Regions from separate parts of the Homo sapiens genome. Here regions 1, 3, 4, 5, 6 and 7 are each linked to region 2. Evidence: promoter capture Hi-C in 16 types of primary human blood cells and fetal thymus (Javierre and others, 2016). All regions are on one chromosome and are shown on one strand. The core of a region is centred on a gene start or on the middle of the fragment in contact, and the rest is flanking DNA. Distances in the headings are between cores, read along the strand shown. Region 1 holds the start of CCNE2 (cyclin E2). Region 2 holds the start of UQCRB (ubiquinol-cytochrome c reductase binding protein). Region 3 has its middle 5.4 kb from the start of INTS8. Region 4 holds the start of PLEKHF2 (pleckstrin homology and FYVE domain containing 2). Region 5 holds the start of NDUFAF6 (NADH:ubiquinone oxidoreductase complex assembly factor 6). Region 6 has its middle 79 kb from the start of MTDH. Region 7 holds the start of TP53INP1 (tumor protein p53 inducible nuclear protein 1).

What was found. Contacts are between HindIII fragments. The CHiCAGO score rates a contact against its expected background, and 5 or more counts as called.
Region 1: a contact is called between the fragment with the promoter of CCNE2 here and the fragment with the promoter of UQCRB in region 2, in 2 of 17 cell types (fetal thymus and neutrophils). The highest score is 7.1, in fetal thymus.
Region 3: a fragment that was not itself captured here is called in contact with the fragment with the promoter of UQCRB in region 2 in 1 of 17 cell types (fetal thymus); the score reaches 5.4 in fetal thymus.
Region 4: the fragment with the promoter of PLEKHF2 here is called in contact with the fragment with the promoter of UQCRB in region 2 in 4 of 17 cell types (non-activated CD4 T cells, activated CD4 T cells, naive CD8 T cells and 1 more); the score reaches 6.6 in non-activated CD4 T cells.
Region 5: a contact is called between a fragment that was not itself captured here and the fragment with the promoter of UQCRB in region 2, in 3 of 17 cell types (total CD8 T cells, naive CD4 T cells and total CD4 T cells). The highest score is 7.1, in total CD8 T cells.
Region 6: a fragment that was not itself captured here is called in contact with the fragment with the promoter of UQCRB in region 2 in 15 of 17 cell types (M0 macrophages, total B cells, M2 macrophages and 12 more); the score reaches 20.8 in M0 macrophages.
Region 7: a contact is called between the fragment with the promoter of TP53INP1 here and the fragment with the promoter of UQCRB in region 2, in 2 of 17 cell types (fetal thymus and total CD4 T cells). The highest score is 10.8, in fetal thymus.

What each region holds. Positions count from the first base shown.
Region 1 is chr8:94,893,360-94,896,537 of GRCh38, forward strand. CCNE2 (cyclin E2) reads right to left here and starts at 1,842. Exons shown (of 12, transcript NM_057749.3): 1 at 1,818-1,842; 2 at 849-888; 3 at 664-760; 4 at 532-585. The coding sequence starts at 862. It also overlaps a transcript of NDUFAF6 not described here. RefSeq lists an enhancer at 654-1,215 and silencers at 1,832-2,051, 2,432-2,531, 2,662-2,711, 2,882-2,931. The HindIII fragment of the contact is 5,265 bases long and covers 1-3,178 here.
Region 2 is chr8:96,233,804-96,237,264 of GRCh38, forward strand. UQCRB (ubiquinol-cytochrome c reductase binding protein) reads right to left here and starts at 1,742. Exons shown (of 4, transcript NM_006294.5): 1 at 1,709-1,742. The coding sequence starts at 1,727. UQCRB-AS1 (UQCRB antisense RNA 1) reads left to right here and starts at 1,490. Exons shown (of 2, transcript NR_183275.1): 1 at 1,490-1,758. RefSeq lists an enhancer at 1,469-1,748. The HindIII fragment of the contact is 3,599 bases long and covers 1-2,249 here.
Region 3 is chr8:94,816,186-94,819,645 of GRCh38, forward strand. No RefSeq gene overlaps it. Among named protein-coding and RNA genes, the nearest start is that of INTS8, 5.4 kb to the right of the region's middle. The HindIII fragment of the contact is 7,350 bases long and covers 1-3,460 here.
Region 4 is chr8:95,132,241-95,135,387 of GRCh38, forward strand. It overlaps PLEKHF2 (pleckstrin homology and FYVE domain containing 2), which reads left to right and starts at 1,545. Exons shown (of 2, transcript NM_024613.4): 1 at 1,545-1,790. RefSeq lists silencers at 1,287-1,926, 1,947-2,106. The HindIII fragment of the contact is 9,547 bases long and covers 1-2,937 here.
Region 5 is chr8:95,024,412-95,027,524 of GRCh38, forward strand. NDUFAF6 (NADH:ubiquinone oxidoreductase complex assembly factor 6) reads left to right here and starts at 578. Exons shown (of 9, transcript NM_152416.4): 1 at 578-794. The coding sequence starts at 598. RefSeq lists enhancers at 1-483, 450-744 and a silencer at 500-869. The HindIII fragment of the contact is 5,537 bases long and covers 1-3,113 here.
Region 6 is chr8:97,563,130-97,566,479 of GRCh38, forward strand. No RefSeq gene overlaps it. Among named protein-coding and RNA genes, the nearest start is that of MTDH, 79 kb to the right of the region's middle. The HindIII fragment of the contact is 8,862 bases long and covers 1-3,350 here.
Region 7 is chr8:94,948,124-94,951,291 of GRCh38, forward strand. It overlaps TP53INP1 (tumor protein p53 inducible nuclear protein 1), which reads right to left and starts at 1,255. Exons shown (of 4, transcript NM_033285.4): 1 at 1,031-1,255. It also overlaps a transcript of NDUFAF6 not described here. RefSeq lists enhancers at 596-1,224, 1,225-1,854, 1,721-1,890, 2,061-2,110 and silencers at 671-810, 1,031-1,410, 1,491-1,600. The HindIII fragment of the contact is 4,012 bases long and covers 1-3,168 here.

The sequences.
Region 1 (3,178 bases), core at 592-3,091, 1.3 Mb before region 2:
GCTCTGATACTTTTGAATATTTGAAAGCAAAACCTTAAAAATGGAATCGATTACTTAAACGATTCTTTTCCCAATAATGCTGGTTTCAAACGCAATCACTATCTCCAAAGTGCTGCTTTCTGTAAAACACATAGGAAGAAGAGGTACCAAAGGGCTGCGTGCCAGGCTGTCAGTGATCTCACATCCTATTTATGCCCAAGAAGCAGCTATTAGGACCGTCTACTAGAGTCTGCGAGGGAACAAAGAGCAGTATATTGGACAGATTAGGCGGGCCCTGGTGCACCAGGCAGTTCCAAGAGGGAGGGATTTACAAAAAGGAACCAGCTGCTTGAAGGCACTTATTCTGCAGCTGTAGTAGGATTCGGGCACATAGAAACCACCCAAAGATAGGCGCCTTCCTGCTGACCTCTAGGGGCATTAAAAGTAAAAGTGTCAGAGGAATCTATCGCAAAGCAATAAACACATAATTCTATTCTTATTCATCTATCCTCCATTTTTCCCCCAAACCCACCCAGCCCAGTTCTGCATTACCCTAATTTCATACTGATGTTTCTTGGTGACCTCCTCTCTTCTTTTTTTGACATCCTGGAAAATAGAAAAGACCATTGGTAAACTAAAGTCCCAGCATGGAATTTCGTTCCTCCCTCTTTCTCCTTAAATCACCTGGGTAGTTTTCCTCTTCTTGGCCTGGATTATCTGGGCTTCTTGGGGGGATTCCGTCTGGCTGGGCTGGGGCTGCTGCTTAGCTTGTAAACGGCTACTGTAGTGAATTTTTAAAAAGGAAGTGTAATTAGTAAGTTAAAGGCAGCAACTAATTTGAAACATGTCTCTAAGACAGATAATGTTACCTTCGTCTTGACATTCTCTTCTTTCAGGTGTATAAAACCTCTGAAGGGGGGAGAGGAAAAGCCGCAGTCAAGTACATTGTCATTCACATTCTCCAAGTGCCAGTAAGACGCTGATTCGCAGGTGAAAGCTCAGTCCCTCCGAAGGGGGCCTGGGCCCTGTGACCCTGCCATCTTCTGTGCTATGTTAGCTAGCTCATGGTAATTCATTTTGGATACAAGCCTGCATTTCCTCAACTGAATGTACAGCTGGAACGCGAGTGTCCAAAAATTTACCAAGCACTCCTGACACCTTGAACGCGCAGGGAGGCACATCTTCCTCAAACGGGTTTTTCTGGGTCCTCCACCCTCTCCCCCGTACACCGGGAGTGGGGCTTGGGCAGCGCCCCCACGTCCCGCCTCCCTCCTGGACCAGCGGGGAGAGGGGGTTGTGGAGGCGAAATGCTGTGGAGAAGCCGGTTCCGCGCCAATTTGGAGAGCGGCGGTGGCGGGGAAGCAGGGGGCGGAGGAACCAAGACTGGTGTCACGGCCTCCAGTCTCCTTTCCCTCCTTCCCGGCCCTGCCGCCCTACCGCCGCTCGGAGGGGCGCCGGGACCCCAACTCCAGATGGGAAGCGGAGGGCGTGGGGGAGGGCAGGAAAAGGAGCTAAAGAAAGGGGAGACTGGGCTGGCTGGGAACTTTTCTCCCCATGGAGGGGACCCGGCCTCCCATCCTCTCTCCCACGGGATAGCTCCCCAAATGAGGGTGGGATAGAGAAGCCCCTAGAATGAGGGGCGGCTCTCCATGCCCAGCCGCTTCCCGGTCCCCTGCCAAGGTTCCTGACAGGGACGGAACGCGGGAACCCATGACCCCCAGTCGTCTAGTTCTCAGCCCTCCCGATTTTCCTCCCTGAGGCTCCCGCCTGTGGTAAGTGATCGGCCCAACTGGGCTTTCTTTCCTCCCACATCCCCCCTACGCGCAGCAACTCCTCACCGCCAGACCAGCTACCGCTCGGCTCAGCTGGCGCCGGCGCCAACCCAATATATAGGCCGGGCCGGTCCCGCCCCGCACGCATGCGCCTCAGACTGACACCTCCGGACAGCGCGCTCCCCTCTCCCGCCCGTCCGCCCGCGTGCCCGCGCGCCGCGCCCTGCTCTCAGTGCGCGCCCGCCACCCGGAGCGGCCGTGGGGTCCACTCTACCGGGCCTTCTGCCCGCGTCCACCGCGCTCCACGGCGCGGCCGGCGGCGGTAGGGAAACTCTCAGGGGCTCCTTCTCCGCGGCTGTTCTCCCCGCCGCCTGGCTCGCGCATCTCCCGCCAGTTTGCTTTTGCTTCCTCCCACTGCAACTCCTGGATTTCGGGGGTGTCAGCCTGCGGCTCAGCCCGGGCGCATAACAGGGGGACACGACTCGGGCGACCATAGGGTGGCTGGGAAGTGACCGTCCAGGGGCGCGCCCTAGCTGTCCCGCCAAGGCCTCAGGGAACCCAGGTCTTTCCTGAGCGACGCGGGGACCCGAGGGCCCGCCCCTCGGGGAGGAGCAAAGCGTTGGCTGAAGAGCTGGCCAATGGGAGGCACGGGCGGCAGCACAACGTGGAGTGGCTGCAGAATGTAAACACCACTCAGCCACGCGCCTGGCCAAGTGCGGCTCTGCTCTCCCCAGTCCCGGTCCGCGACCACCCGGAGCCCGCTCCGCCGGCCTTGCGCGGCGCGCCCAGGGAAGGCATTTCCAGCCCGCCCACCCAGGTATGTATCAACCCTGCTTTCCGGCTCCCTGCTCCCCCTACCGGGTTTCCCTCCCCATGGGTCGGTCGCTCCCCCAACCCGCCGCTCTGCCCCTGCAGTGGCCTCCAGCTGCCACCCCGCAGTCCCCGCGCAGGAAACGCTCGCGCCACGCCGCGCCCTCCCTTGCTTCCTCTCTTCTCCACCTCCAATTCCGGGATCCCAGAGGGTAAAACCCCTCTCCGGAGCGGGGCCCGGGAACGGCATTCCTCCTCCCCCTGAGCGCGGTGGTCCCCGGGGACCTGGCCGGGTGGGAAGAAAGATCGCCACCACGTGCAGGCCCCGGGCCCGCCTGCCGCGCCCCGCCCCGCCGCCGCCGCCAGCGCGCCCTGCGGAGCCCGCGCGAGCCGGCAGCGCGGGAGGGCGCCGTTCGCGCCCGAGCGCTGTTGGGAGGAGGGGGGCCCGACGCTCTTCCTTTATCCTTCCCCGGGTGTTTAAACTTAGGGGTCCCTTCGCTGCCTCTATGAATGCCCCCACAACTGGCGCACCCCAAAACTGCACATCGTCAAGTCAGACTTGCGGCGGGTATTCCGCAAACAGGTTTTGCGGCGGGAGCAGCGAGGCGGGGAACAGC
Region 2 (3,461 bases), core at 492-2,991:
ATGTATGTATTTTGGGGAGGATTTTGATACCATTAGTCATTTAAACATTAATATGGATTCGTAAAAGAAGTCCATTTACCTCCTCCTAAGCAACTAAGTTCCCCCCAAGGGAATGGATATTGAAAAAGGATGAGAAATAGGTAATTTTAAAACTGTTTGGGGAACAGGGCTGAGCCTGATGAAGTAACCCAGCAGGGTCCAAGTACAGCAGGACCGTATCTGACATTTTAGGAGAGACATTTTACAAAAGGAGAGGTAGAACAGGTTTGTATTCTCTTTTAAAATTTTGTCTAGGGTTAGCCCTTACCAAGGAAGGAAAGCAAACTCTCCTTTCACTCAACTCTCCTTGCTTGCAAACTCAGTGCACTACAGATTACGTGGCTTTAGCAAATCTCCTTGGAAATTAAGAGTCATGTATAAAACTGCTGCTAGAAAAACAAGTATCAGTCAACAATCTACAAACATACTTGTGGAAGACAGATTATATTCAACCACCTATCAGTGACTATAATAATATTCACTAAGCACTTATTGTGCACCAAACACTTTCCTATTTGCTTTACCAACATTAGCTGATTTATTTACATGTCTGTTACTACAGAAGGGGAAGCTGGCTTACAGAAGTGATCCCACCCAAGGTCAGAGTTAGCTAATGGGAGTTGAGATCTGGTCTATGTAGTTCCCAAACACGCACAGAAGCAGTGTCTTGAATTTAGTAAGACTCCTTCAATATCTGCCAAATTAATAAAATAATTATTTAAAAAGTCTCCCCCACCCCCAAAAAGCTCAATGTCAATTAGGTTAACGGATGTTTCTGGCAACCTGATGTTTCCTAACAGCTTCACAATTGCTGGGGGCGGGGAGAAAAGGATCAACATTTTTTAAGCTACTCCAACTTGGTTGCATTGCAGTGAGACGAGATTGTGCCATTGCACTCCAGCCTGGGCGACAAAGCAAGACTCCGTCTCAAAGACAAAACAAACAAACAAACAAAACGGCTACTCCAACTTGTACCGCCAGAGGGCAGAGATTAGCAAAAAAAAAAAAAAAGAAAGAAAAAAGAAAAAAAGAACCTACAATAAATTCAAATTTCTCCAAACCTACTGATCAAGCTGACGCTCTAGATAATCCAAGGTCAACCTGAAGCGTCGCTCGTATCCCTTGCTCAACTGTCTCTGATTCGCAGTTTGAGAAGCGCGAGGGGTGCAATGATATTTCCAATTCTACTTCCTTGGGTCACTTTGCCTCAGTTATCTTATCAGCGTAAAAGGGAAATTAATATCTCCCTCGTCGCAATGGCAAGAAAATTTATAGGGCCAATGCACACGATAGAGCACTTGGGTCATAGAAAGCACTGAGCTCATTCGGGTTGAAAGTCATCCACTAGTTATCCTCTTGTGCCCTTTAACTTTTCTAAGGCCAAGGGGAAGGACTTCCAAGCACGGGCAGCTGGAACTCCAGGGCTGTCAGAGCCACCGCGGGCACCTTCACAAACAGCGGGTTAACATCCCAACCCTATACAGGCAAGCCCGCCCTGGGGACAGCAAACGAGTGGGGAAGCACATCCTTTTCACTGGACTGAAGCAGCCAATTTCCCTTCCGCGACAAACTTGGCCACTTACAAAGAAGAGAGAAAACGGAGCAAGCTGCAGCAAAAATAAACGGTGAAGCGCGACGATGCCGGCCAAGAAGACCCCCAGTTACTTACCGGCCTGCTTACCAGCCATTTTGACCAGAAAGAGAAGCGTTGCCTTCTGGGTAAGTCATAGAGGACAAGCTGGGCCCAGTCCGCAGGCGCGTTACGTCACATCGCGAACAGAGAAAGGCCGCTTGCGCAGGCGCAGTTCTGACGACTGCCGTTCAGCACCTGCGTAAGCACCTCTCGGCCAGGGTGAGGCCAATGGAGTAGGCGGGGCATTTTGCGTGCTACATTCTAAGAAGTATTGGTTGTGATGTGATGGGAAGAACACAGGTCAGGAATTAGGAGACCAAGGCTTAAAGCTGGGTTCTGTTATTTGCTGTTAATAGCTATGGGAGCGTGGACAGTATTAATTCAGCTCTTTGTGCCAGGCAGGAAGCTAAATGTTTTAAGGGCATCGTCTTACTTTCTATTGAAGGACTGATGGATGTGCCATCCCAAAAATATATGGAATTGGTACATTGATTATTTCGAGTTGAAAATATTGGAGAAATTGTAGTTTCAGAAAAGGTTTGATGACCTATCTCTTCCTGCATGCAGCAAGCCATAAAGCTTCCTCCAGGATTCCTCTGGAGTACCCGTCCCTTACCAGAGGGAGAAAATAGCACCTATCACCAGAGACGAAACTGGGGGCTGCTTTGGACCTGAATATACTTTCCGAAGTAACCGTTATCTTCCACTAAGTTTACACCCCAACACACACACTTTTCTCCTAATGACTCCGCGAGAAATTTACTGCCCCTAGCCAGATCCCCTTTCTTCTGATTTGTAGTTCGTGTAAAAAGTATAAAGGCATCTTACATTGGCCACTTCACTCTTTTGTGCGGATCCCCATGTACATGTAAAACTAGTAAAATTAGTATGCTTTTCTCTTGTTAATCTGCCATGTGTCAATTTGGTTCCTAGATTCAACCAAAGAGCCCACATAAGAGCAAAGGGGAGGGAGGGTTGGAGGTGATCTCTCACTCCCCTAAACTATCTTTTAATTCTAAAAGTACTGTAATTATCTCATTGTAGAGAGGAGAAAGCTGAGGCTCAGAAAGGTTGAATAACTTGTCCAAGAGCACATGACTAGAAGAGTCCAGGTTCTTCTTCCAGAATCTGAAAATCCAGATGCAAATTTGGGGCTCCTTAATTCTAGGGTCATATGCTATACTGCTACACTACTAATCCAGGAAAGACACCAAGCCTTTCAGGCCTTGGGTTTCTCCAGCTGAAGATCTATATCTAGCTATTTTAGTGGAAGGTTAGGTCAGAAAAGGTTTTGGGTTTTTTTTGTTTGTTTTTTTTCACCCTTTTTTTTGTTGTTCAGCCTCTGTCACCCAGGCTGAATGGCACAATCTCGGCTCACTGCAACCTCTGCCTCCTGGGTTCAAATGACTCGTGCCTCAGCCTCCTGAGTAGCTGGGACTACAGGTGTACACACTACCATGCCCGCTAATTTTTGTATTTTTAGTAGAGACGGGGTTTCACCGTGTTGGCCAGGCTGGTATCAAACTCTTGACCTCAAGTGATCCACCCACGTCAGCCTCCCAAAATGCTGGGTTACCCGCGTGAGCCATCATGCCCAGCAGAAAAGGTTTTTAAAGATTAAATCTAAGATGTATTGCAGAATTTGCACACAATTTTAAGACAAAAGAGAAGTATATAGATTTTCTCACTTTTAAGGTCTCAACCCCAACATGCGAAGTCTTAGGCATAAACATCTAGAGACAGAAAACAATTAGGGGGAGCTAGCATGACTGATAGTTACTGGTGAACT
Region 3 (3,460 bases), core at 851-3,350, 1.4 Mb before region 2:
CCTCGGCCTCCCAAAGTGCTGGGATTACAGGCGTGAGCCACCATGCATGGTCTAGTTTTCAACACATGAATGTGGGGGGAACACAAACATTCAGACCATAGCAGTGGTTCAATTTAACGAAGGTCATATCAGGGACCAAACCCTGGTTCTAACATTTATTCTCTGGGAGACTTTGACGAAGCTACTGATCTACTTATTCTGCTCCTAGATAAGGAGTCTCATTACTGTATTATCAAGTTTATCTATAGATTTGGTGCAATTATAATAAAAGTTCCACCAAATTTGTGTGCTATTGATTTTTTGTTTTTTAAATAGTTGTAAATCCACAGAAAAAAAATTAAGAACAATAACTTCTCTGATCCTCAGCTTCTTCAGCTGTAAGGTGAGCTCATAATTCCTACTTTCTAGGATGTTGAAAGATCAAATGAGAAAACGAGGATATAAAGGCCCTAATTTGGGTCATGGTATGTAACAAATGCTCCATAATAGTTTGTTTCTATGAGCCCATAGAATTTTTCATGGGTTTTGAGGAAATATCAGGGACTTTAAAAGCATCTATATATGGCTGGGCACAGTGGCTTACACCTGTAATTCCAGCACTTTGGGAGGCCAACGTGGGAGGATCACTGGAGCCCAAGAGCTCCAGATCAGCCTGGGTGGGCAACATAGCAAGACCCTATCTCTGCAAAAAAATAAATAAATTAGCTGGGCATGGTGGTATTCATCTGTGGTCCCAGCTACTCAGGAGGCTGAGGCAGAAGGATCACTTGAACCCAGGATGTCAAGGAGGCAGTGAGCTAAATGCCACTGCACTCCAGCCTGGGCAACAGAGAGATACCATCACAAAACAAACAAACAAAAACCAGAACGGGGTGCGGTGGCTCACGTCTGTAATCCCAGCACTTTGGGAGGCTGAGGCGGGTAGATCACCTGAGGTCAGGAGTTCGAGACCAGCCCGGTCGACATAGTGTAACCTGTCTCTACTAAAAATACAAAAATTAGCCAGGCATGGTGGCGTGCCTGTAATCCCAGCTACTCTGGAGGCTGAGGTAGGAGAATCACTTGAACCTGGGAGGTGGAGGTTGCAGCGAGCCAAGAGCGCACCATTGCACTCCAGCCTGGGCAACAGAGCAAGACTCTGTCTCAAAAAAAAAAAATACAGATAAAGTTGAAGTACCTGTGACCCCCCTCCCCCACTCCTTCCCCCCATTCACCTCTCCTCTCCCCTTCTCTAACCCACCCCTGTTCTATCCTCCTTCCCTCTTCTCTTCAGAGCCAAACACAGTAGGATTTTGATGTGCATGCCTCAATAAAATAGTTTCTCAGATTTTTTAGTCTCAGGGCCCTGTTAGACCAAAAAATTATTAAGCACTTAAAAGAGTGTTTGTTTATATTTACCATATTAAAAATTAACACTGAGAAGTTTTAAAAATATTTAATTTATTTAAATTAAAATAAAATAATCATATAAAAATAAAAATAATCCTATTACATGCTGACAAATACAATTTTATATAAAATAACTATTTTCATTTTAAAAACTAGAAGAGTGGCATTGCTCACATAGATGAGTAGTTAAAAAAAGAAGTATTTTATATCTTTTCGGATAATTATGGACTTTCTTCACCAAAACCTGAGAAAGTGGTTGTTTCTTAAAGATTAGCTGCAATTTTAAATCTGAAATCATACCAATTAACTTTTCAAATTCCGTTCCATTACAATTCATCAGTCTGTCTTGAAATTTTTTGTTTTGTTTTGTTTTGAGATGGAGTCTTGCTCTGTCGCCCAGGCTGGAGTACAGTGATGCGATTTCTGCTCACTGCAACCTCTGCCTCCCGGGTTCAAGCTATTCTCCTGCTTCAGACTCCTGAGTAGCTAGGATTACAGGCACCTGCCACCATGCCAGCTAATTTTTGTATTTTTAATAGAGACAGGGTTTGATCACGTTGGCCAGGCTGGTCCAAACTCCTGACCTCGTCATCCTCCCACCTCGGCCTCCCAAAGTGCTGGGATTACAGGCATGAGCCACCGTGCCCAGCTGAAATTTTTTATTTATTTACTTTTAAGAGGCAGGGTCTCGCTCTGTCACCCAGACTGGAGTACAGTGGCATGATCATAGCTCGCTGCAGTCTCCAACTCCTGGTTTCAAGTGATCATCCTGCCCCTGCCTCCCAAAGTGTTGGGATTACAGGCATGAGCCACTGTGCTCGGCTTGTCTTGGAATTTAAATAAATCTTTTAGCCATATATTAGGAAAATATTGATTGATTTGTCAAGTTGTGATGATCATCTGAAAGTTGACACATTTAAATATACATTTGTTAATATCGCCATTGGTGTCATCAGAAAAGTCTTGTCAAGTATTGGGAAGCTGCCAAGTTTACAGTTTTCTAAAATTCTAATTTTACTTAAAAAGTTGAATGTTGGCCAGGAGCGGTGGCTCATGTCTGTAATCCCAGCACTTTGGGAGGCCAAGGTGGGAGGATCACTTGAGGTCAGGAGTTCAAGACCAGTCTGGCCAACATGGTGAAACCCCATCTCTACTAAAAATAGAAAAATTAGCCAGGTGTGGTGGTGGCAGTGCCTGTAATCCCAGCTATTCGGGAGGCTGAGGCAGGAGAATCGCTTGAACCTGAGAGGTGGAGGTTGCAGTGAGCGGTGATAGCACCATTGCACTCCAGCCTGGGCAGCAAGAGCAAAACTCCATCTCAAAAAAAAAAAAAAAAAATTGAATGTTATTATTCGCCACAAATGGTGTTAGTTGTTTTCCATAAAGTGACATGACAGGCTCACTTTGTTCAAGAAAATGTCTGCTAAATACCCAAGTCTGAATGACCACAGTCTGTTCTCATTCTTTCTTTCTTTTCTTTTTTTTTTTTTTTTTGAGACAGGGTCTCACTCTGTCACCCACCTGAGTGCAGTGGTGCAATCTCGGCTCACTGTAGCCTCATCCTCTTGGGCTCAAGCAATCCTCCCACCTCAGTTTCCCACATAGCCAGGACTACAGACGCACACCACCATCCCAGCCTTATTTTTTATTTTGATTTTTTTGTAGAGACAGAAGTCTCACTATGCTGCCCAGATACGTCTTGAATTCCTGGACTCTCCACCTCAGCCTCCCAAAGTGCTGGGATTACAGGCGTGAGCCACTGCACTCGGCCAGTTTCTGTTGTTTTAAACCACAAAGTTTGTGGTAATTTGTTACAGCAGCCACTTGAAACAGATACAATGAGTATGTCACATTTTATTTGTCTATTCACCAGGTTATAGACCTTGGTTTCTACTTTTAGGCTACTGTAGATACTGCTGTTCTAAACATTCAAGTCTTTGTGTGGGTACATTTTCTCCTTTCTCTTGGATACATACCTAGAAGGGGAATTGCTGAGTCATCTGGTAAGCCTATTTTTAACATTTTTTTTTTTTTGAGACAGAGTTTCATTCTTGTCGCCTAAGCTGGAGTG
Region 4 (3,147 bases), core at 295-2,794, 1.1 Mb before region 2:
CAAGTGAAAAAACCAAAGTTATCTTTGGATGTGCCAAGGTTGTTAGAGACAAAGCCAATGTTTGATTACAGTCATTCTGGCTTCTATCTATGCACTTTACTTAAGCTAAATAAGTACATGGGAAGTGAGGAGGGCAAACATTTTTACTAATGTGAGTGACCAAAAATATTTGATAACTAATGCTCTAGGCTTGACCTTAGACAACCAGTCAGACATAGCAATTCCTACTTTCAAAATTTAAAAGGATTTTAGGCATTATTTAGTCCTGCCTTTTCCCCACTGATAGATATTGCTGTGCACGTAGAGGTGAATGAGGTAGAGTGATGGTACGGACAAGCGTCCTGGTGACATCTGTACTCATCTAGAGACAACTCTAACACACGAAAGATTGTGTGTGTGTGATCATACAATTTTCCCCATTTAAAAAAAGTTCATCTTTGCCAATTTTGTTCTAATTATTAATTTAAAAAAAGACTTGTTTGTTTCAGAGACAAACTCTATTGAAATAGGGGAGGATAGGAGGCAACAAGCCTGGAGGAGGAAGATCCCAGGTGGAAGAGCAGGGCGGAACCCAAGTCTGCTCTCATCCCTAGGTGCTCATCCACGTGCAGCTTGGCTGGTAGTGACTCTAATTCAACAGCAATCAAACACAGGTTAAAACAACTTACTGAAGTAATAGATGAATAAGAAATATAAAATTTACCAAAACCCAATTTCCTCCTACACACCACACACACTTTGTTTAAAATAAGTATGCTGTTCTCCCTACTTCGCCCCCATCCCTAGTCTACCCTAAGCAACTTCGTTACCTCTCTACGAACCCATCAGAGCGCTTAGCTATCAGATCAATTAGGGCACATTTAACCTTATATACTATGCAATAATTACAGTTTCTAGGTATGTGAAGTAGGCTGATGGGGTTTTGTGTCGTCAAAGTTTTGGGAAGACCAGAATTCTAAAGTATGCATTTAAAAGAAAGGGCTGGGTGGAGCACGTAGGGTATGTGTGTGTCGCCGCAGTTCCCTTGGTTTCAAGAGGAGGGATTTTAGGTAAAGCAAAGGGAAAGTGTGACGGAAAGGATTGCTGTGCTAAATGGGAGCAGCAAATGCCAGTACCGATGCCTTTGGGCATTTAGATCCAAAGCCTGCCTTTCTCGTTCTTCAGTTCCCCGGGGAGGCCTGTTGTGGGTGGGGAGGTGTCTTCCTTCTATTATTCCAGTCTCCCTAAGAACTTCGTAGACAGTTGAGCAATACTTTCTAAGGGCTGGTCGGAGTCAGGAAAGTCAGGTAAGGCGCCTCACGTGCACCTCAACGCGTCGCGGGAGCGCGTCCCGACCTCACACATGGACAAGCTCCGCCCGCGGCCGGCCTGAGTGGGTGTGGCCTCCGCCAAAGGCCCCGCCCCTAGAGCGCGTCGCGAGGGGCGCGAGGGGCGGGGCGAGGGAACTGGCAAGAAAGGGCGGGGAGCGAGGGGTGTGGGTGTGCTCGTGCCCGCGCGCTCGCGCCCGGAGTGTGGACGGGGGCGCGCCCGTGCGCGCGCAGGGGAGAGGCCAGCCCAGGCAGCCGTTGTCGGGTTCGACTGGAGGGGCGGGGGAGTCACCTGCGAGCGGCTGCGCTGGCGGCCAGCCCGCCCACCGCGTCTGGATCGCGCCGGCTGCGCGGGGCTGCGGACAGCACACACCCTGGAAGGCCCCGGCGGGGAACGGGCAGAGTCCGCGCCCTGCGTCCGCGACCAGGAGGATCGGACCTTCGCCTTCGCTGTCGCCGCCGCCGCCGCCCGCGGCCGTCGGGGTAGGTGAAGCCCGGGTGGGTGGTCCGCCGGCTCCTGACGGGCCGGGAGGGGAGACGCGAAACTTTCCGGGCGCTTCCTCCCGCGGTCCCGGAGCCGTCGCAGCGCCGGGAGGTGTCGTCGTCGCGGGCGGTGGCGGCCGACGCCATGTTGGGGTCTGTGAGAAACGGGGCGCTCCCGGCCGCTCCCCTCGCGCCGGGGCCGGCCCGCGGGCCAGTTGCCGCCGCCGTCCCGCCAGCCCGGGAGCGAGCCGCGCCCGCCCGTAGGACGCCGCCGCCGCCGCGGGGGGACGGGGGCCGCCGGGTAGGGTCCGGTCCACGGGTCTGCGGGGCGGGGGCCGGCGGACGCGGGAAGGAGCCCCGAGGCCGGGCGAGAAGTTGTGGGGCCTGAGGACGGGGGTCCTGGACACGGCCGGGGGCGTCTCAGGGTCGCGACAAATTTCTGGCCGAAAAGTTTGCAGGGTCTGCGTGTCGGGGACCTTATGACCTGAACTACATATTTGTATGTCACTTGGGAGACGAAAATGGCCCCGCAGAACTTGCTCTGATAGAAGCGATGGTTTATTTATTTGGAGCCTTTTCAAGTTTTATGATCCTTTGACGAATTTATTTTTCTTTTTAAAAATGTGATTGAAGGCCGAGAGCGCGCTGCCGGTGTTGCTTGAATAGCCTTGTGTGCTCTCCGTACATTCCAGCAATAACTTGAGTGTGCGGTGGAAGTGGGTATGAAGGTTACAGACACCTAAGCCCTCCTCGGTAATTCATAGACTCACAAAACGCGTTGTTGATAAATGCCTTCTTTGTCGTGTTGTGTAGTACGTTGCTGAAGAGACTCATTAAAGAAAGATTTAGACAGAAACTTTGAGAGTCTTAAAGGCATGTGTTCTCTTAAGAATAAGAAGTGATCTTGACAGTTTGAAGTTTTTTTCCCCTCCCTTTAGTTTCTTAAGGGTGAATGCCTACCGCGTTTTGAGCATTTACTTTTTTTAAATACTCTGGCAGCTCGTGGGGTCTTCACGTTAATTCAGTATTAACGAAGGCTTCATTATAATCTCTTTGGGTCCCGACCACACGGGGAATGAATGGTATTAAGCTATTTATTTGGAAAGCACACGTAATCGGCCTCTAAATAAAACTAGTATAGTGACTAAGCTTCAGAAGAAAATATTCAGCCTCAGTAAATGAATCTAAATGATTTTTAAATAAAGACATCTTGCTTTAAAATTCTGTTAAATGAACTGAAAAGGCTCTTAAACACAAATACAGTAAGCCCTAAAACCCCAAATTCTTGGAGAATTTTACTTTTTAGATCTAAAAATACAGCTTCTGCTCATATTTGATTGTCAATTTCTTTTTCCTT
Region 5 (3,113 bases), core at 195-2,694, 1.2 Mb before region 2:
GCCTACTGTGTGGCTTCTCTGAGAGATGTGTGTGCTTTTCTGCTGGAGGTGTTAGGTGGCCAGTGGTTCCCAAACAGGGCGACATTTCCAGAGGCCTTTGGTGGTGTGTGGGCGTTTGGTGGTCACCAAGACTGGGCATTCACCTATTGCAAACTTCCAGCAACGTGCGGGACAGCGCTATTGCGCCCAAAGTGCCAAGGCAGCCCCTGTTGAGAAACAGTGCAAGGTGTTCTGTTCTCATGGTGGATTTGGGGTATAGGGGCGGCGGGGCGTGATTTTGGCAGCTACTTCCTTCACCAGCAGCACCCATCACTTCTTGTAGGTGCTCTGAGGTCGCCTGTGGATGCACGTGGGGGAAGGGGAAGAGCCCAGGAGGGGTCGGACGGACTTGGGCGGGTCTTTCCTGGAACGAAGGCCAAAGAGTCGCGGCGGCGGCCCAGATGCAGAGGACCACAGCGACACCTGGCTCTTCTTTGAGCGGCGTCCAGAGGCTGCCTTCCCGCGACTCAAAGGAGCATAGGGGAACCTGCAGGGGCGTGGCCGGGGCGTAGCTGCGCGCCGACGGCGGGGGGTCGAAGGGCACGCAGTGCCGGCGTCATGGCGGCCTCCGCGCACGGCTCTGTCTGGGGGCCGTTGCGGCTTGGCATCCCCGGCCTGTGCTGCCGCCGGCCGCCTCTGGGTCTGTACGCGCGCATGCGGCGGCTGCCCGGGCCGGAGGTGTCTGGGCGGAGCGTGGCTGCGGCCAGCGGACCGGGCGCCTGGGGCACTGACCACTACTGCCTGGAGCTGCTGCGGTGAGCGAGCACGACCTTCCCTGGCGCGGCGGGAAGCGGGGTCCCGGGGTGGGAGCGGCTGCGCCTCGCGTCTGGCCTGACGTTTGAGCGAGCGGACCGGCGCCTTCCTCGTGCCCCTCTGGGTGTGCGTTCTAGTGGGCGTCGGGTGCGGGTGTGCGGAGGCAGCGGGCCCACAGGAACATTCACATGGGTCACAAAATTATGGCAAAATTCCTTCGACTGCCCACGCTTGTCGCCTTATCTGAACCTTAATTTTAGCCGAATTCAGCGTTTTTGCATGAATAACCTTTGTTATTCACAGAACGTCTATTAGTTTTAACCACAACGGTAGCCAACTTTGAGTTCTTTCTGTGTGCCTGGCATTATGCAAAGCAGATTACGAGTAATTAGTCTTCATTACAAGTTGCGACGGACAAATGTAGACCTATCATTTAAGGTTGTGAGTTATAAAGCATTTAGAACAATTCCTGGCATATAGTAAGGGCACAGTGAGTGGAAGTCATTATTATCTCATTTAACAGACAAGGAAACTGGGTTTTATAGTGATTAGAGAATTTGCCACAGGTTCACAAGAATAGCCTCATAAAGTCAGAGCCCTGAAGTGTTTTGTTTGTCGGGCGTAGTGCTGGGAAGGCCTGGCACTTGGGTGTCGCTCCTTAATCATTTGTGGAGGTGGGTTGGATCAATCAGGTCACCTGGTTCATGCGGCAGGGACCCCTGGGAATCCAGGCCTGACTGCTGAGACCAGTGGCTTAGCCCCTCTGCCCTTCTGCTATGTCTCATTTGAAAGACTGGGGTAAGGTCTTGAAGTACTTGGTCTCAAGGACTTACCAAAAGTACTTGAATGACTAAACTACCTTGAAGTTGATCATGCAAGTAAAACCGTTTTTTTTTTAATTCCATTTTAGAGAAAAGCAGCATAACACAACAAAATGCATGCATTTCAGTGTTTTGTTTATAATCCCTTTTAAAAATTGTGGGCCGGCCGCGGTGGCTACACGCCTGTAATCTCCGCACTTTAGGAGGCTGAGACCGGTGGGTTGTTTGAGCCCAGGTGTCTGAGACCAGTCTGGCCAACATGGCGAAACCCCATCCCTACAAAAAAATAAAAAATTAGTTGGGCGTTGTGTCCCGCGCTTGTGGTCCCGGCTGCTCCAGAGGCTGACGTGGGAGGATCGCTTCAGCCTGGGAGGTGGAGGTTGCAGTGAACCAAGATCGCTCCACTGCACTCTAGCCTGGGCGACAGTCTCAAAAACAACAAAAACAAAAATTATTTATTTCCTACCTTATTTGTTGATTACTTGTAAGAGAAACAAGATAGCAGTAATGGAAATCAGGCATTAAGAATTGTAAAAGCCAAAAAAAATTGTAAAAGCCAAAATTGTGAAAAGATTGCATTATTTTTATATATTTAAGTTGTTATATTTTGATGATAAAAACTTTAAGTTGCCAGAGTATACCACCCAATAGCCGCTAGTGTCATAACTTTGCAGAGATAATCACTTTTAAAAATTTCTTATCTATTTTTCCAGGGATAGTCTGTGGATTTACAAATATTTAAGGCTGGAGGAATGGCTTACACCTGTAATCTCAGCATTTTGGGAAGCCTAGGCAGAAGGGTTGCTTGATGCCAGGAGTTTGAGACCAGCCTGGGCAACATAGCGGGATGCTGTTGCTACAAAAAATAAAAAAATTAGCTGGGCTTGGTGGCACAGCCTGTGGTCCCAGCTACTGCGAGGCTGAGGCGGGAGGATCACTTCACTCCAGGAGGCTGAGGCTGCTATGAGCCGAGTTTGCTCCATTGCACTCCAGCTGGGGCAACAGAGCAAGACCCTGTTTCAAAACAAACAAACAAAAATATTTAAGTACATTATTAGTTATTTTTTACTTCAGTCACATGCTAGTTTTTCTCAAGTATATATACTGTATTTACAAATGGTCAGTTACTTAAACTGTCCATGTTATTTGTGTGGAATGGGGGCTCTTGACTCTAGTGACTTATTTCAAATGCTGAATTTTGCAGGCAGACCTGATTTGAGAGTATTAATCCCAGCTCTATCACTTGGGAAGGTTTCTTTAAGATTCCATGTTGGCTGGGCACCATGGCTCACACCTGTAACCTTAGCACTTTGGGAGGCTGAGGAGGGAGGATTGCTTGAGCCTAAGAGTTCCAGACCAGCCTGGGCAACATAGTGGGACCCCTTCTCTACAAAAAATAAATAAAATTAGCTGGGCATGGTGGTAAGCACCTGTAGTCCCAGCTACTCTGGAGGCTGAGAGAGGAGGATCACTTGAACATGGGAGGTTGAGGCTGCAGTG
Region 6 (3,350 bases), core at 302-2,801, 1.3 Mb after region 2:
GGATCACCTGAGCCTGGGGAGGTTGAGGCTGCAGTGAGCTGTGATCATGCCTCTGCACTCCAGCCTAGGCAACAAGGTGAGACCCTGCCTAGAAAAAGAAAAGAAAAGAGAAAAGTAGATGTTAAAATATCATTCCTCTGCTCTTCATGTGAAATCTTACCCAGAAACCCAAAATGTAAAACATAAAAACCAGAGTATGGTTAAGGGGTGGAAAGAATGGGAGATGAGAGGACCCCAGGGCCCTCCCCCAGAGGCCTGAGAGAAGTCTGCCAAGGAAAGTTTGAAAACTCACCAAACTGGGAAATCTCTGCAGTCTCTTCCAGCTTGAAAGTTCTACAATTCAGTGTTAAGGAGCAAACACTTGGCCTAATTCCCAAACTTGAGAATAGTCACGCATACTAAGTGTGACAGGTGAAGTAAATGATGATTAATGTGGGTGTGTTGCAGGCTTTTTTTTGACCCTGATCCTACTCCTTGGCCTGCTTCAGGCCCTTCAGCTTCCCCACCCTCCAAGCAGGGTTTTTTCTGTGTGTGTGATAAGGAATCAGTATGGAAAGATGAGAAACACAAGAGTCGCCCGGTCAAAAATTAAGCAGAAAAATAATGCATGACAGCAAATCCATACCCACATAAATACCAAAAAGAACTGGAAACAGGGACTCAAACAAACACTTGTACACACATGTTTATAGCAGCACTATCCATGATAGCCAAAAACAAGAAACAACCCAAAAGCCCATCTACAGATGAGTGGATAAACAAACTGTGGTATTTTACATACCGTGGAATATTATTCAGTCATCAAAAGGAAGGAAGTGCTGATACATGCTGGATGAGCCTCAAAAACATTAAGCTGCTTGAAAGAAACAAGACACAAAAGGCCACATATCGTATGGTTCCATTTATAGGAAGTGTCCAGAATAGTTAAATCCAAAGAGAGAGGTGGCAAATTGTTGGTTGCCAGGGGCTCAGGGAGGGGAGAATGAGGAGTAACTGCTTAATGGGCATGGGGTTGTATTTGGGGAGAATAAAATGTTTCAGAACTAGATAGAGGTGATGGTTCTACAATATTAAGAATGTGTTAAATGACACTGAATTTTTCACTTTAAAATGGTTAATTTTAGGTTTTGTGAATTTTATCTCAATTTTTTAAAAATCAGTTGAGCAAAAAGAAAAAGAAGAGATGGCACCAGGGAATGTTTGCAGAGAGAGTGTTTGAGGGCAGTGGCTGTGGAAAGAGCAACTGCAGGTATGAGTGGAGTGGAAGGGGAGGGCACTGTGGGAGATGTTCTGCCCTCTCCCCACGCTGAAGTGCAGGTAAAGAACTCCAGCACTGGCGTGGTTTGGAGCAGAAGCTCTGGAACCAGACTGCCTGGTTTTAAATCCCCATCCTATTACTTATTAACAGTAACCTTCGGCAAGTTGCTTAACCTCTCCATACCTTGTTTCTTCATTTGTAACATGGAGATAATAATAATACATAACTAAGGATTGTTTAAAAGGGTTAAATAAATTCTTTCATATAAATCACTTGGGATAGTGTAGACCATCTCCTCAATATTCGCTTCAGCCTTCAGTGAATGTTACCCAGTGTTCTTTTCTCATGTGGTTTCATAGGTCTTCCTCTTTGACTAGACCATTCCAGAATTGAACCATGTCCACTGTCCACTGTGCTTTGTAAATCTTCTATCAGTGTTTCCCTATTCTGCAGAATGGTTTTTGAGACAGGGTCCCACTCTGTCACCAAGGCTAGAGTACAGTGGCACAGTCACAGCTCACTGCAGCCTCCACCTCCTGGTCTCAGGTGATCCTCCCACCTAAACCTCCTGAGTATCTGAGACTACAGTTGCCTGCCACCACACCCTGTGAATTTTTGTAATTTTTAGAGACGGGGTTTCGCCGCATTGCCCAGGCTGGTCTTGAACTCTGGCACTCAAGCAATCTGCCTGCCTCAGCCTCCCAAAGTGCTAGAATTACAGGCTTGAGCCACTGTACCCAGACTGCAGGTGTTTTAATACAAACTTTGAAATAAGTATAAATAATATCCTTTTCAAGGAAAGCTGCCTTTACATCTCAGGTTCTAAAGAACTAAATCCCCTAGTTTCTTTGACTGCCATAACAAAGTACCACAAACTTGGCTTAGAACAACAGAAATTTCTTCTGCCCCAGTACTTGGGGCTAGAAGTCTGGCTACAGCCACCAGGCTCTTTCCCAGCTGTCACCCAAGGCGTCAGCAGGGTCATGCTCCCTCCAAGCCTCTCGTGGAAAGCCCTTTCTAGTCTCTTCCAGTTTCTGGCAGCCTCCCGGCCTTCCTTGGCTTGTGGCAGCAGAATGTTTGCCTCTGTCCTCACATGGCTGTTATTCTGTCCTCACATGGCCGGGACAGGGGTGCGGCGCAGAGAGCCCCACGTCCTGGGAAACGGGGTGCTGCTGGAAAGGCAGCTGCACCCTCAACCCTCACGTGGGGAACCTGACGCTAAACCATTCGTAGCCCACCTGCTTCTGGGTAGGGGTTTCATACGTAGCAGAGCAGCTACCTGCTGAGATCTATTGAAAGTCAGCCCTTGACACAAGGGTTTGTAAAAGGAAAAATAAATAAATAAATAAATATATAAATAAATAAATAAAATGAAATAAATGAAAAAAGAAAAAAGACTTCAACGAATCTCCTAGGGGACACAATTCAACTCGTAAACTTCCCAATCCCTATAGCTCTCCTAATGCATTCATAAGCTCCACCGCCACACTTCTATGGGCTTCCCAGACTAACCAGCTGCTGGAACAATCTTTTGTTTGGCTTTGTTTTGTTTTTTAGATACAGGTTCTCACTCTATGGTCCAGGTTGGAGTGCAGTGGCACAATCATAGCTCACTGCAGCCTCAATCTCCCTGGCTCAAGTGATCTTCCTGCCTCAGCCTCCTAAGTAGCCGGGACTATGGGCTCATGCCACCATACCAGGCTAATTATTTTATTTTTTGTAGAGACAAGGATCTCACTTTGTTGCCCAGGCTGGTCTCGAACTCCTGAGCTCAAGTGATCCATCCACCTCAGCCACCCAAAGTGCTGGGATTACAGGCACGAGCCACTGTGCCCAGCTGGGAGCAATATATTTTTAATGTTTTAAATGTTTTATTTGGCACACTAAAACCCACATGCTTAACCACTGTACTGCAATGAATGAATGAATGATGAGTGTTGAATCAAAAAATATGTGTTGATCATGTCTAAGAAGGGAGTGAAAACCACAACTGAAACCCACCAGCCTCTAAAAAAGTTATGAGTAAATTGGTGCAAAAAAATATTGTTTATCCACGCCTGTAATTTCAGCACTTTGGGAGGCTGAGATAGGT
Region 7 (3,168 bases), core at 5-2,504, 1.3 Mb before region 2:
TTCCTTAATCCACTCTGTATTGGAATTAACCTACTGAGCAGATATAATCAGAAAATACAAGCAAAACAGACTCTCCAGGTAAAATTCAGCTGCCACTTTGAAATACAAACACCATTTCCTTTTATTAATTGGCTGTGTGGCCTTGAGCAACTTAATCTCTCTGTGCCTCGGGTTTCCTATGTGTAAGATAGCCGGGCCTATTTCATATAAGGTTATTATGAGAATCAACTGGGGCGATAAAGCAAAGCCCCCAGCATAGTATATGGCACATACTCAGCGCTCAGTAAGCGTGAGCGATCCAAAGGATCTAAATGTTAAGGGCCAAGGAGAGCGCTCTTTCCACAGGTGCAAAGTCAGGTAGCGAAGACTGAGTTCAAGCCAGGTCAAGCAAGGGACAGGCCGCGGACAGGCGGGGGCCGGTGGCCGGGTCACGGAGCAGGTTCCCCATAGCCGCAGGGCCTCCGGAACTCGGAGGGCAGGCGCAGGGGACGGGATCGCAGGGCGGGGACAGAGCGCCGGGCCACAAGCCCAAGCGCCGCTGTCTTCGGAGATGCGTCCCGGGGGTGGCCGCGGGAGCCCCGACGCCGAGTCCCGAAGGGGCGGCCCCATCCAACGGCCGAGAGCAGGCGGAGGAGGAGGAGTGGAGGGGAGTGAGGAGGGGTGAGAGGAGGAGGTCCCGCCGCGGCCAAGAAAACAAGCCACGCTCGGGGGAGGAGGCAGAGACCAAACTCCCAACCGCCGCCCAGCGCCGGGGCCAGGCCGGGCCCTTGTCCGCGCCGCCGCCGCCTCTGTCAGCCTCTGTCCGCGCCCTGGGCCCCGGGGGCCGCCGAGGACCGACCCACTGGGTGGGCGGCCGGGCCCGGCGGCGGCGAGGGGAGGCAGCGAGGGGGCTCGGTGAACGCGCAACCGGCGCCCCGAAGGCAGGGCGCGCGGCCGGCCCCGCCGGGCTCAGGAGCGGGCAGCGCTGCGGCCCCAACCGGCAGCGAGGCGGCCCTGGACGGACGCCCGCCCGCCCCCCCCCGGCACTTACGTGGGCCCGGGCCGTGCGGGGCTGCGCGGGGAAGGGAGCGGCCGCCGGCTCGGCGGGGAAGGACGCGGGCGGGGCGGGACTGCTGAGGTAGCTGCGGTGGGGCCGGGCTGCGCTGCACCTCGTTCAGGTACCCAGACGGCAGGCGCGGGGCCGGCTCCAGCCCTCGGGTCGCTGCGCCCAGGCCGGCCAGTCCAAGTCCTTTTGTTGTTGTGCAGCGCTCGCAACAGCTGATCGGCCGCTCCGCTCGCCGTCGGGCCCCGCTGCCCCGCCCCGGGCCGCGCCAGGCCGGGCCCCACCAATCGGCGGTGCGGGGGCCCCGGGGCCGCCCTGCGAGAGGTTGTCACCAACGCACGTGACCTGGCGCCCGGCCGGCGGCGCGCTCAGCTCCGAAACAAGCCCGGGCAACAAAAACCGGGAGCTGAGCGTGAAGGCCTGGGCGAGCGGAAGGGTGGGAGAGAGGGGCTAGGCCGGGGAGGGAAGCGCTGGGGCCGGGGCCGGCTTTCCAGGAGCCGGCGGGAGCGGGGTGCGTAAGAGGCGGGCGAGGAAGAACCGGCGGGCAACGGGAAGGGCAGAGGTGGATCTCTCCCTCAGCGACCCCTCTCGCCGAGTGAAGGGTCGAGGGTTTGGGGCACAAAGGGCGCAGAACGTTTTTTCCTGTGAGAGGAACATTAAGACTCCTGGGAGGGCTGGGGCTAACGCCTCCGAGAGCCCCACCTGGTCAGCCTAGGGTTAGACGTGTAGCCAGGGTGCTGGGAGGGGGCCGCTGCTGGGCCCCAGATAGAGGGGTAGAGGCCGCTCAATCACGGAGCCAGGCCCCACCTGCTGTAGAAACCGCCACCGAGAGCCGGCCGGGCTTGCTGCACGCTCTGGATTCCGCCTGCCTATAGGCGAGGCACAAGGGACTGCGAGACCAGGCCTGAAGGCAGAGAGGTCAGCAGGCTCGGGGGCCTCTGCTCCAGCGGACAACAAGCGCACCGGGCGGGAACGGCCGCCTCCCCAGGCGCTGCAGCCTAGCTCTCATGTGACCCACGGAACTTAGCCCCTCTGTTCTGTTTGCATACCTGCAAATTGTGGGCATTCACGCCGGGACTGCCAACTCACCAGGTTATTTATAGTGACAAGAGAGTGAGACAGTGGGCTTGAAAGTGTTTTCCAGACCAAGGCTCTGTCCCACATATAGGTGGATTAACTGTCTGGCAAAGGCAGGTGAGTAACGTTGATGCCTATCAGCTCTCATGTGGATACTGTTTGGACTGGGATGTAGTTCTTTGACCTGGGGTGAGCTGTATAGCAACCCTGGAGGGATGCCTATCACACATTACAGTATCTGAAAGACACTCACATTCTGACCCTCACAATGTAGTCAGTCCATTTCCAACAATGCTGGTTTTAAAGGATGTAAATTGCAGTGCAGGGAGTTGTCAGACACCAAGGAGTAATGATCAAAATATGATGGTCATTGGACCTTATCTTGGGAGAAAGAGCTAAAACTGTGTTCTAGATAGTCTCACAGACTTGAACATGCTTTGGATTTTAGGTTTTTGCAAATCAGGCTTGTTCTAATATTTTCTCCCACATGCTATGGTAGGAGCCCCATGATCTCTTGTTTCTCCCTAGGAATCCATTGAAGAGGCCATCTCCACATTCAGAACCAAGGTATGATGACAATTACAAGGGGCTAATTTTTAAAAAGAAAAAGGCCTACCTTTTTCCAGTTTGATAAGGTTTATCATGGTTAAAGCAACATGTGAAATCATCATCTTGTTATGATAGAAAAATTCAATATGAAGTAGATCATTTTTCCAAAGATGACCACAACAGTATCTCCATCATGAAGTGGGTGTATTTTTCTTCCCTTTGAATCTGGGCTGACCCTGTGATTGCTCTGACCAATAGAATGTGGCAGAAAGAATGTTCTAGGACTTCCAAGCCTCGTCATTAAGCAAAAGCATTAAGCAAACCCCACAGCTTCTGCTTTGTACTCTGGAAAATGCCAGCCACCCATGAGGAGAGACCACCCTGCTAGCCACAGGGAGAGGCTATGTGAAAAGAAAGAGATGCCTGGCCAGCTCTAGCTCTTCAGCTCATCCCAGCTGAGCTACCAGACACATGAGTGGAAAAGCCCTTAGGAAGTTCCA